2 separate regions of the Homo sapiens genome follow, and region 2 is linked to region 1. The links are contacts of gene promoters, found by promoter capture Hi-C in human tissues and cell types (Jung and others, 2019). All regions are on one chromosome and are shown on one strand. The core of a region is centred on a gene start or on the middle of the fragment in contact, and the rest is flanking DNA. Distances in the headings are between cores, read along the strand shown.

Region 1 (2,700 bases), core at 105-2,604:
CTCTGGAAGCTGAAGCTGAGGCAGTAGGATCGCTTGAGCCCAGGAGGTCGAGGCTGCAGTGAGCCAGGACTGAGCCACTGCACTCCAGCCTGGGCAACAGAGCAAGACCTTGTCTCAAAAAAACAAAAGGTCAGCTCAGGTATCTCCTCATGGAAACCCTTCTTCACATCCAGAGGTGGTCGGCTTCCTTCTCTATTCTAACCCTGGGCTTTGTACACAGGTCTGCATCCCCTCCTAGCATCTGTGAGCTTCTCTCAGGGAAAAGCTCATTGATCTGCATCCCCAAGACCTGCTGGGGAAGAATCTATCCATCTAAACTCGCTTTAATTTGACAAATGAATCAGTTAAGAGTAGGAAAGCTGCCTATGGGCACTGCTCAATGCAACGTGAGCAACAAAGGGAGACAGAACTGAGGCCAGAAAGGTGAGGGGGGACAGAGGCTGGCAGGGAGGGGAGCTTGTCAGTGCAGACTCCAGGAAGAATCTATACAGAAAGTTACTGAGCGGCCTGAGTCCCCCAAGTGAGGGCTCGGGACAATCTCCCGCCTGGGTGAGAGAATAGGGAGACCCTGAAACGTCTCTGCAGCCTCGGGCTGCTCCAGAAGCGCCCACAGCTGCAGGGTTTTGGTGTGGATGGGACCTGCTGACAGGGATGCGGTGGGAAGAGCCCCTCGGCGCCCGTTCTCCCAGGCTTCCCCTTGGCCAAGGGTGCTCCTAGCACAGGGCCATGAAAGTAAGATGAAGAGGCTTGTTTTTCTCCTAGATACCAGCGGGCAAGCAGAAAACAAGAGGCTCAAGAGGGGCAGCCCCCGCATAGAGGAGATGCGAGCTCTGCGCTCTGCCAGGGCCCCGAGCCCGTCAGAGGCCGCCCCGCGCCGCCCGGAAGCCACCGCGGCCCCCCTCACTCCTAGAGGAAGGGAGCACCGCGAGGCTCACGGCAGGGCCCTGGCGCCGGGCAGGGCGAGCCTCGGAAGCCGCCTGGAGGTAACTGGGCGAGGGCCGCGCAGGGAAGGGCTCAGCAGGAGGTGCAGGCCACGGGCCGCTGCTGAGAGGTCCTCACCCCGGGCCCCCTTGTTCCCGCAGGACGTGCTGTGGCTGCAGGAGGTCTCCAACCTGTCAGAGTGGCTGAGTCCCAGCCCTGGGCCCTGAGCCGGGTCCCCTTCCGCAAGCGCCCACCGATCCGGAGGCTGCGGGCAGCCGTTATCCCGTGGTTTAATAAAGCTGCCGCGCGCTCACCAAGTCCTCTTCCGCGTCTGCTTCCGCGTCGGGCCCGGGCGGGGCGGGGCGGGGCGTGGAGCCGCGCCGCGGCCTGACGTCACCCACACCTCCCTGGGACTGCGTCACTGGTGCGCGCCGCGGGTCAGGGCGCAATGGCGGCGCTGGGCGGGGATGGGCTGCGACTGCTGTCGGTGTCGCGGCCGGAGCGGCCGCCCGAGTCGGCGGCGCTGGGCGGCCTGGGCCCCGGGCTGTGCTGCTGGGTGTCAGTGTTCTCCTGCCTCAGCCTCGCCTGCTCCTACGTGGGCAGCCTCTACGTCTGGAAGAGCGAACTGCCCAGGTGCGGGGGCTGCGCGCGACCGGAATCCGCGCCCTGCGGGCGGAGCTTGGGCGAGCCGGGGGCGGGTCCGTGCTCATGGGCAGCCGCGGGCCCCCTGAACTTACTGTCCCCTCCGTAGGGACCATCCCGCGGTCATCAAGCGACGCTTCACCAGCGTCCTGGTGGTGTCCAGTCTCTCACCCCTGTGCGTGCTGCTCTGGAGGGAACTCACAGGCATCCAGGTGCGAAGGAGGCGGGGCAAAGGGCAACGGCGGTGAGAGCTCAGGGGTCTTTAGGGGAGGAAGCAAAACTGATGCCCCCTTTCCTGTGGCTCAGCCAGGCACATCCCTGCTCACCCTGATGGGCTTCAGGCTGGAGGGCATTTTCCCAGCGGCGCTGCTGCCCCTGTTGCTGACCATGGTGAGTGCTCCTGCTGTATTTTTTCTTCTGGTCTTTGTTATCAGCCTGATGGGCAGTGCCGTGGACTCTTGTTTTTGGTTTTTGGTTGATGGGAGACAGGACTTTTGAGATGGCCCCAGGGTCCTCCGGTATGCATGGTCTGGAAATCGTGGCTGGAGAGGATTTCAAGCTTGGAGTCTCAGGGAGCATGGGCAAAGGTCTGGGCAAAAGCGGTGGGTTATGGTGAAAGTGTTTTCTTGCCCTCAGATTCTTTTCCTGGGCCCACTGATGCAGCTCTCTATGGATTGCCCTTGTGACCTGGCAGATGGGCTGAAGGTTGTCCTGGGTGAGTCTTAAAGGCTGAAGGGAAAAGTAGGCACAGGCAGTCCAGGACATTGGGGCAGGGAGTCAGCGGGCTCAGGGTGTGATCTGGACACGTGAAATGTCATCTCTCTGGGTGTGTTTTCTCATCAGTAAAATGGAAACATAGAGCTAGGTGGCCTCTAAGGGTTGATTGCCAACGTCCAAGGAGTTCCCTGGGAACCCCCAGCAGTATTTGGTGTGGATCAGAGAGCACTGTCCCCTGCTTCCCCAACCAGAGCTAGTCTTGCTTAAATTTTGGTGTCTCCAGAGTTTACTTCCAGGATGCCCTTGCCTCAGCTAATGCCTTCCATTCAGGTCATCTCAAGACATTGGGTTTATGTTGGGTCCACACCCCCGTCCTCAGCAGTATTGATGCCTAACCTGAGTTTGGCCAGGGTAAAGTTG
Region 2 (2,700 bases), core at 64-2,563, 670 kb before region 1:
AGTGCAGTGGCGCAATCTCGGCTCACTGCAAGCTCCGCCTCCCAGGTTCACGCTATTCTCCTGCCTCAGCCTCCCGAGTAGCTGGGACTATAGGCGCCCACCACCACGCCCCGCTAATTTTTTGTATTTTTAGTAGAGACGGGGTTTCACCATGTTAGCCAGGATGGTCTCGATCTCCTGACCTTGTGATCCGCCCGCCTCGGCCTCCCAAAGTGCTGGGATTACAGGCTTGAGCCACCGCGCCCGGCCTCATTCCATTTTTCTAAACTATGCATTCGAAAGATAGACATTCAACTTTTATTTTCTTAGTTTACTCTCAAGCTTTGAATGTGAATACTTAAGAGTTTAAAGTTAGTCAATTTCCATTCTCTTCTGAAACAATTAAAGGCCCTAAAAAATGCTTTAATTCAGTCAGTTCCTCCCACCACGCTTGCCGTACCGTTTACTGTGCGTAAATCAGACATTGCCATTCTTGTTTTATAAAAGCAATGTTTGTTTAAATTTCCCTATATTTTTACAGTTTTCTTTGTCCATCATTTATTTTTCTATCCTTGATCTTCTTTCTGGGACCTTTCCTTACTTTTACGGTATATCCTTAAGACACTTCATGAAATGTGTGAGCCAGCCTCCACGGTCTCCCTTATGACTGTGGCTCTCTGTGACTCACACGCCCACACCGAAGAGGGCTGACCTGTGTAAGCATTGGAACGTTGCAGCAGTGATGGAGCGTGACTTCTGAGGCTGGGTCATAAAATACGTTGCACCTTTTTGCCTTGCTCTTTCTTGGGCCACTCACTGTGGGATGCCGGCTGCCATGTCATGAGGTTATCAAGCAGTCCTGGGAAGATTCCATGTGGAGAGGAACTGAGGCTCCCTGTCAACTGCCAGTACAAACTTGCCAGCCTTGCAAGGCAGCCACACGGGCAGCAGATCCTGCAGCCCCCTCAAGTGACTGTAGCCCCAGCCACCAACTGGATGGCAACCTCACAAGAGATCCTGAGCTAGGACCACCTAGCCCAGCTGCTTCTGAATCTCTGACACACAGAAACTGTGAGATAATAAATGTGTTTTGCAGCCAGGTGCGGTGGCTCACATCTCAGCACTTTGGGAGGCCGAGGCAGCCAGATCACAAGGTCAAGAGATCGAGACCATCCTGGCCAACATGGTGAAACCCCGTCTCTACTAAACATACAAAAATTAGCTGGGCGTGGTGGCGCGTGCCTGTAGTCCCAGCTACTCAGAAGGCTGAGGCAGGAGAATCGCTTGAACCCGGGAGGCGGAGGTTGTAGTGAGCTGAGATCACACCACTGCACGCCAGCCTGGTGACACAGCGAGACTCTGTCTCAAAAAAAAAAAAAAAAAAGTGTTATCAGTATTGTTACACAGCAGTAATTAATATACATTAGTGAGAGTATTCTGGTAGTAAACTCTGTTTTTATCTTAAAATGTTTTTTGATTTTGGTTTTTTTTTTTTGTTTTTTTTTGTAGAGACAGGGTCCTGCTATGTTGCTCAGTCTGGTCTTAAACTCCTGGGCTCAAGCAATCCTCCCACTTCACCCTCCCAAGGTGCTGACATTACAGGCATAAGCCACCACATCCAGCCATCTGAAAATGTCTTTAATTAATGCCCATTCCTAAAATATATTTTATCTATATATACAATTCTGTATTCACAATTATTTTCTTTCAGCATATTGAAGACATTTTTTATTTTCTTCTGAGTTCCATTATTGCTGTTAAAAGTCCATTGTCAAATAAAAGACTTGTATCTAGACTATGTAAAAAACCTAACACTCAGCCGGGCGCAGTGGCTCACGCCTGTAATCCTAGCACTTTGGGAGGCCGAGGCAAGCGGATCACTTGAGCTCAGGAGTTCGAAACCAGCTTGGCCATCATGGTGAAACCCTGTCTCTACTAAAAAATACAAAAAATTAGCTGGGCATGGTGGTGTGTGCCTGTAATCCCAGCTACTTGGGAGGCTGAGGCAGGAGAATCGCTTGAACCCGGGAGGCAGAAGTTGTAGAGAGCCAAGATCATGCCACCGCACTCCAGCCTGGGCGACAGAGCGAAACTCCATCTCAAAAAGAAAAAGAACCTAACACTCAACAAACACCTCAGTTTAAAAATGGGCAAAAGATTCGGGCCAGGCGTGGTGGCTCACACCTGTAATCCCAGCACTTTGGGATGCCAAGGTGGGCAGAACACCTAAGGTCAGGAGTTCGAGACCAACTTGGCCAACATGGCGAAACCCTGTCTCTACTAAAAATACAAAAATTAGCTGGCCTGGTGGCACGCGCCTGTAATCCCAGCTACTCAGGAAGCTGAGGCATGAGAATCACTTGAACCTGGGAGGTGGAGGTTGCAGTGAGTCGAGATCGTGCCATTGCACTCCAGCTGGGCAACGGAGCAAGACTCTGTCTCAAAAAAAAAAAGGCAAAAGATTTGAATAGAGATTTTACCAAAGAAGATATGCCAAATAAACACTTGAAATGATGCTCAAAATCATTAGTCGCTTGAGAAAGGCAAATTAGTCACGAGGGAAATCCAAATTAAAACCACATTAAATAAAATAACAAAAAAATCAAAAAACCGTAATAAGATAACACTTACTGAATGACCTTAATCAGAAAAGCAGACAATAATAAATGGTGGTGAGGATATAGAGAAACAAGAACCCTCATACATTGCTGGTAGGAATGT

The links. Contacts are between HindIII fragments. The study calls those that stand out against the background at their distance.
Region 2: a contact is called between a fragment that was not itself captured here and the fragment with the promoter of RCE1 in region 1, in 1 of the 25 tissues and cell types used here (liver).

Annotation. Positions count from the first base shown.
Region 1 is chr11:66,842,087-66,844,786 of GRCh38, forward strand. RCE1 (Ras converting CAAX endopeptidase 1) reads left to right here and starts at 1,355. Exons shown (of 8, transcript NM_005133.3): 1 at 1,355-1,554; 2 at 1,673-1,775; 3 at 1,870-1,953; 4 at 2,200-2,278. The coding sequence starts at 1,370. It overlaps TOP6BL (TOP6B like initiator of meiotic double strand breaks), which reads left to right. Exons shown (of 15, transcript NM_001302084.2): 14 at 763-983; 15 at 1,083-1,430. The coding sequence ends at 1,148. RefSeq lists silencers at 896-1,035, 1,146-1,585 and an enhancer at 1,226-1,932. The HindIII fragment of the contact is 26,172 bases long and covers 1-2,700 here.
Region 2 is chr11:66,171,630-66,174,329 of GRCh38, forward strand. All of the region lies in intron 1 of PACS1 (phosphofurin acidic cluster sorting protein 1), which reads left to right. Among named protein-coding and RNA genes, the nearest start is that of KLC2, 85 kb to the right of the region's middle. The HindIII fragment of the contact is 8,093 bases long and covers 1-2,700 here.